Linked DNA regions of Homo sapiens: region 1 is linked to region 2. Evidence: promoter capture Hi-C in human tissues and cell types (Jung and others, 2019). All regions are on one chromosome and are shown on one strand. The core of a region is centred on a gene start or on the middle of the fragment in contact, and the rest is flanking DNA. Distances in the headings are between cores, read along the strand shown.

Evidence for each region. The method cuts DNA at HindIII sites, captures the fragments that hold promoters and counts their contacts. A contact is called where the count stands out against the background at its distance.
Region 1: a contact is called between a fragment that was not itself captured here and the fragment with the promoter of HRCT1 in region 2, in 1 of the 25 tissues and cell types used here (hippocampus).

What each region holds. Positions count from the first base shown.
Region 1 is chr9:35,727,237-35,730,814 of GRCh38, reverse strand. The region is part of intron 1 of TLN1 (talin 1); the gene reads left to right. Among named protein-coding and RNA genes, the nearest start is that of TLN1, 3.2 kb to the left of the region's middle. RefSeq lists enhancers at 453-512, 2,908-3,578. The HindIII fragment of the contact is 3,260 bases long and covers 304-3,563 here.
Region 2 is chr9:35,904,309-35,907,475 of GRCh38, reverse strand. It overlaps HRCT1 (histidine rich carboxyl terminus 1), which reads right to left and starts at 1,274. Exons shown (of 1, transcript NM_001039792.2): 1 at 340-1,274. The coding sequence starts at 1,188. The coding sequence ends at 841. It overlaps LOC124902149 (a long non-coding RNA gene), which reads left to right and starts at 1,806. Exons shown (of 3, transcript XR_007061471.1): 1 at 1,806-3,108. RefSeq lists an enhancer at 1,727-2,608. The HindIII fragment of the contact is 3,304 bases long and covers 1-2,970 here.

The sequences.
Region 1 (3,578 bases), core at 684-3,183, 180 kb after region 2:
CCCACTTCACTTGTTCTCTTGGTATTAAGCCCTCCTCTCCAACTCTCATCCCTGACTCTGCATTTCACACCCATCCTGCCTATCCCCTTACAAAATACTTCCCTTGCCTTTAACTCTCCCATGCTCATCTTATCATCCGTTCCCATCCTTAGTTCTACCTCCCTCACCAACCTTTAATCCGCACATCCTACCTGAATTTACCCTCATCAAAACCTGAGCTTTCCCATCATTTTAAATTACTCTCCTACCATTTTCACCCAGTCATGTACCTACATTCCACCTGGTCATCTGCTGAATACCCTACTCCCATCCCCTGCTGTGTGTCACCCCCTGGATCTAAGCCTCTTTTAATTTCTTGGACCATTTGTAGATCCCCTTCCCCCACTCCCCAACAGAAAAGAGGAAACGAGACCCAAAGAGGAAACTGGGTCTTGCTGATCCCACGCCCAGCCAGGCCACTGACCACACCCCCACTTCACTCCCAGCCTGACCCTGCCACTGACCACAGCACTATCCTCTACTCAGCCTGACCCAGCCACTGGCTGTACCCCATCCCCCATCCCAGCTCCAGCTTTACTTAGACATTGCCAATGTCCCTTCACTTTCCCACCCCCACCCCAGTCTGATTTAGTGACTGACCACAGGCCCAGCTCTTCTCAACCTCCTATAGCCTGACCTGGCCTCTGACCTCACCCCATCATTCCCTGACTTAGCCACCATCCATGTAATCATTCCCCTTCCCCCAACCTGATGCAGTGACTGGTCATATATGTATCTTATGTATATGTATTTTTCCAAACACCATCATCACCAGCATTCTTTTTCTACACCCTGTCTTCTCATCCTTTTTCTACACCCTGTCTTCCCCATTCCCAGCCTGATGCAGTCACTAACCCAACCCCATCTGCCCCTAGTGGCTACTAATCATATACTCATACCCTTTTTCCCCACAGCCTAACCACATCCCGTAACCACAGCCTCATCCTCACATTCTCTGCCCAACCTGATCCTTTCCCCTCTTCCCAATTCGTCGCCTAAACTCAAGCTGCCCCAGCCGCTAAAGTGGCTGCTGATGATAGGAAGCTGTGGGACTCTAACCTGTCTACCTTAGTAGTTATTAGGTCCTGTCATTTCTACCTCCCCAAACTTGTTCTGAGTGACATCTTCCTCAATGCCATTCCAACTCCGGCTTCATTACCTTTAATTTGTACTAATACAGTGTCCTTCTAACTAATCTCCAAGGTAACTGCCAGAGTTATTTTTCTAAAATCCAGTTCCGGTTATGTCTCTTCTCTGCTCAAAGACTCCCTTGGCTTCCTTTTGTCCTCCAATAAGTAAAATTCCTCATACCCCTCTCCAGTCTTCCTCTGCCTTTCCATCCTAACCCTGACTTCCCCACCACTGCTCCCTTGCAGGTACCCCTGTGCTTCAACAGCCTGCCTGCTCACTTCCCTGAATGCTCCTCCACGATTTACTGCTTCTCCATCTTTGCTTATGCTATTTCTCTGCCTGGAGTGAAAACTACCCCTGACACATCTCCAGCTGGCTGGCGTAGTGGAGAAAGCTTGGGCTTTGCAGTCAGAAACCTGGGTTCGGATCCTGGCTTCACAACTTATTATTTGGAGAAGTATTTGAACAAGTATTTAACATCTTTGAGTCTGTTTTCTGATCTGTAAAAATGGAAATAATGACACCTACTGTAAGGATTAAATGAAATTATGTATACAATGCAAGTGACATAGTCAATAAATGGCAGATCACTATTGTTTTTTATTATCTCTATTTTTTAAAATTCTAGCTTCAAATGATACTTATCATGGAGACTTTTTGGTTCCCCTTCCCTGACCTAAAGGGATCTCTCTGAGCACACACCTTTTGGCTCTTACCACATCCTGCCCTCCGTTGTGATTCTGTACTTGGCTTATTCACTCATCTCGTGGACTGGGAGCCCTTTGAACTCAAAGGCTAGGTCTTACTGATCTTGGTCCCCAGCCACTGAAAGTTTGGCCCAGGGTCTTCCCCACAGCTGGCCCTCAAGGAATGCTTGCTGGGTGAATGGAGAATGTCTACATAATGGGAGGAGAGACACTGGGTGCCGGGTGTGCTTGTTATGGAGGTTATCTGTGCAAAAGCTGTGTGCATAGGATGGGCTCCCTAGGAGAAGATAATGCAGTCGTGATGGGATCTGTGTGGGGGCTGTGTGATTGAGATAATGTGTGTATAGAGAGAGTAAGGTAGCTTTGTGGGAAAGAGCTCTGCCTAGGCTGGGGTGCATCTGGGGAGAATGAGTGTGCATTTGAGTATGGAGGGGCTGTACCGGGGGAAGTTCTGTGCAGCCCTTCAGCTAGCTGCCCAGTCCAGCTCTAAATGAGTCTCCAGCAGCCTGAGGCCGGATATGTCAGTCTCACCCACAGCCCTCCCCCACTGCCAGCGGTTGCGGACTCAGAGGCCAAATTTGGTAACAGACTGAGTGTTACTCCCCCATCCCTCTTATATTCTGACTGTCTTAAGCTCTTTCCTTTTGTTCCTGTCTGTAACTCCCTATCTTTCTGCAATTCCCCTTGTGGGTATCTGCTCTGACTATATTCTCCAAGTACCCCAACTTTCTTAGCTCCAATACTCTTACATTCCATTCCTTGCTGGGATTTGACCTCCTGTCCTCCATTCCCCCCCTCCAATTGCCCAACTTCTTTGGAATGCATCGCAGGAATGTATTGAGGGAGGAGGAGTTCCCTGGGAGGGGGACACGGCAGTGGGGAGTTGCTGTTCCATCAAACACAATGGAAAAGGGAGCAAAGTTCTCAGGCCAAAGGAGGAATGAGCTAGCTTCTACTCATACTTGTAGCAGCCTTGTTCTTTGCCACCACCACCCACAATTCACTGATCAGTTCTTCGCGTCCACACACCCTCTTGTAGCTGTGTGAATATCCACTCTGGACCAGCTGGGGAGTAAGGGTAGGCATGACTCAGCTCCCTTATCGGGGTCTCACCAGAGGCTTCCGTGCTTGAGGAGGAAGGGGGTGTCTAAGTGTCCAGAGGAAATGGGGGGAGACATGCAGTTTCAGCTTAGTGTGAAGGGTCCTTTCAGTCCTGCTTCTTGGCTCCACAGACTCCTCCAGCTTCTCGGATCCACCAGCCCAGCCCTCATTCTTTCATGGTCAGCAACCCCATAGCCAGGTCTGTCCAGCTGGGACACAAGCGGATAGTAATAAGGTTGGGCAAAGTGCCCCAGGAGTGGGGAGGGGGCAGAGAGCTGGAACTGGGGAGACTGGGAGGGTCCTCTCTTATTGGGGAGTAAAGACAGAGAGCTGTGGTTCTTCTCTTTTGAGACTCTGGACTGCTTGTAAGGTCAGAAATGGTCTATCTGCCACTTGGTACCAGACCGCTGATCTAGACCATTTTCATACCTGCCTCCTGTCTCTTGTTTCTACTTAGATTTTCAATTCTCCTCATCCCATCTCTCCTAACTTCTTTACCCTCTACCCCTTCTTAACTTCCCTGGCTTTCAAATGCCTTCTGTATCCTAACACCCCCATCTCTGCTTTCCAGCCTTCCCCTCTCACCCTGCTTTTCCCCAT
Region 2 (3,167 bases), core at 25-2,524:
TGAAAAAAGTACAGGGGCAGAGCCCTGGGGAGCCAGGCTCGCAGCGGCTCCAACCTTCCTCTCCCCGAGGACTGTCCCGCGGAAGGCCAGAGCCCTGCTGGTGCACACAGGACCTGCTGTGGGCAGGGTTTTGTGCAAACCCTGAATCCTCCCTCAGAGCTCAGACAGAGCCCACCCAATTCTTCCCACTCCACAACCAGCCCCTAAGAACCAGACAGAAGCCGCCTGCTCCAGCCACACGCTTCCCATCAGAGAGGGAGGTCCCAGGGCAATGAGGACACAGGCCAGGCAGCTCCCTCCCTCCCACTATGCTGCAATCAAGAGCCTCTTCACAAAAGCTTCTTAGTGGTTTTTATTTTCTTGGACTAAGGCACCGATGAATTGACTGTGCAGCCTCACACTGCCTTCTCCAAACCAAAAGGACATTCTCAGGGCCTCTCCCAGTGCCCTGCCCGCCAGAGGCCTGCAGCAGCCTGATGAGGAGGTCAAGACGGGCACTTCACATCCACTTGTGTGCTGGCTCTGCCAAGACACGCTTGTCATTTCTGGGGCTCACTGGGAGTCACTGTCACAAGACGGGCTGTCCAGCCCCGAAAGAGCACCCTTGCTCTCCACTCCCCAAACCCTTCAGCACTGCAGACCCAGTGTTCCTCCATTCTCTGCTGCCATAGTACACTGGGGCATGCCATGCAAATGCAGCTGGAGCAAGCCCCAGTCTATTGTTCCCCTCGTTCACCCCAGAGATGCATCCTTCCACATGGAAACATGGGGTCCACTTGTCCTGGGAACAGATGGGAGGGCAGGGGCAGCTGCTGTCCACAGGCACCGGCGACAGCAGCCTCAGCGAGCGTGGCGGGGATGGTGGCGGTGGGGGTGGTGGTGGTGGTGGAGGTGGTGAGGGGTGTGGCGGGGGTGGTGGTGGTGGTGGAGGCCCACATTCGGCACATGAGATACGTGGCCAGGATGACGGTGATGGTGAAAGATTCCCAGGTGGCCCCGCCGCCGGAAGGGCCAAGGCTGGGCCCGGCGGACTCGGTTTCCCCCTGCAGCTGTACGGTTCCTCTCCACGTCACAGTCCTGCCGTCCGTGGAAAAGGCAGGTGGCCAGCAGCAGCAGCAGCAGCAGGACCGCCACAGCAGCACCTGTGATCCATCCCACGAGGGCTGTGCTCCCCAGGAGGCCCAGCATCTGGGAGCCGGACAGTCCCTCTCTGCCCAGCAGCTCCTCACTCCTTTCTCCCCTTCAGCAGCCTCCGCTCAGCCCTCTCAGTCACTGAACTTTGTTGTCTCTGCTGCGGGCTGGAGAGCAGCCAGGGAATGTGGGCGAAGCCTGTTTGGACTTGCAACTGCTGGCCAAGGGTGAGGCCAGGCCGCTGTTAACTCTGAGGAGGCCTGGCAGGGAGGCCAGGTGGAGACAGAGGAGCTGTCAGGCTGGATCTGGTTGAGGGAGGAGCCCTGAGTCTAGAGGAAAGAAACCCTCCTGCTGCCTGGCTCAGTGACCTTCCCTCTCCGCACTTCAGTCTCCTCTCGTAGAGACTGTGTAGAACAGAGATGAACAACACGGGCTTTGGAGCCACGCCACTCACTTGCTCTGAGATTGTGCACAAGTTACTTAACCTCTCTGTCCTGTTTCCTCTTCTGTAAAATGGCTGATAACGGTTCCTTCCTCAGTAGGGTGTTCCGAGGACTAAAGGAGTTGAGATGCGTAAAGCAGCAACACCAGCTCCCGTCATGTTTGCAACTGATATTACTGCAATGGACTCCATGGCTCAGGAGACACTGACATCTGAGAGTCTGTGATTCCCTGTCCTGCAGCCTGCAGAGCCCTCCGGGGCTGAGTCAGGCTCTGTCAGATGAGCCATCCCGAGCTCAATGAGCTTGAGAAGCTCAGGGAGGCACCACAGGCAGATTTTGCCATCCAGGGAGGTCCTCCATCCGGCCTGTTCTGGGAGGCAGGAGGGTCTGGGTGTCCTCCCAAGCTTGCTGGGAGGCAAGAAGGAGGCCACTGAGCTCAGAGAGGGCAGGCACAGCCCAGCCTCCTGGTTCCCAGTTCAACAGTCTCAACTGGCCATAAATGGCATGCTCCTTGCTCTGTCACACCCTCCCTGCCCAGCAGTGATGAGTGCCATTCCTGCCTAGTGGAGCATTTACAGAGCGGCAGGATCTGAGCAGTACTGACTGTCCCTCCAAGCCCACCCGCCAGGCCCAAATCCCCTCTGTTCCTCCTGGGAGGCACCGTCCCATCCTGCTGACAGACCTCAGCAACAGGTGCTCACTCTCTCTCTGGGCAACCCTTTCTGCTGTGGGCATGCTGGGCTGTTCTCCAAGCTCTTCCTCACATGCAGTGGGGCTCCCCAAAGCCCCAGCTCTGTGTCTGGCTCTGCAGGGTCCCTCCAGGCTGAGTCCCCAGCCCCTCCCTCCAGGCTCATCTCCCTACCGCCTGGAGGAATGTCTGCAGACACCGCAAGGCTGGTTCTCTGAGTTCTGGCAGCACCTCCACCCTGTGATGTTGGGCAAACCCCTTGCCCTGATCCAGCCTGTCTCCTCTGCAGAACTCCCGGAGCAAGAGGTGACCTCCAGGGACCCTTCCCCCTCTGACCTCAGTCTGAGGTGAGTTCTCTTAGGGAGGCCTCAAACCCTTAATGAAAACCCTCACCAGATGAAAAGGCTAAACATTCCCTTCAACCAAACTGGGCTCAGGGGGCAGCAGGTCTAATGAATCCTGGCACTTCTTTGGCCCTTGGGGGAGCTACTTGAACTTTTAATGATGCTGGAGTAAGAACTCCTCCTGCAGACTCCTGGGGCCCTGGGAGCCCGGCTGCCTTCCCTAGGGAAGTTAAGGAGGGAAGTCTGTTGTGAGGAGGAGGAGGAGGAAGGCAAACAGGGGATTTTCGTCCTCAGAACTTCTCCAGGAAGACTCCCACCCCACACCAGCCGCTGGCGGCGGGGCAGGACCTTACAACTATGAACTTGAAGAACTTCAGTCAGCTCAAACGGCCCCTTGGAATCACCCAGACTCAGCCTTCACTGACAGATGGAGAAACTGAAGCCAGAGAAGGGAAACACTTGCCTAAGTTCTCCCAGCCTCGTGCGCTAATCTATACAGCAGGTACTCAACAGAGCACCATCCCTGCAGTGAGGGAGCCGTCCAGAGTGACAGCCTGAGAT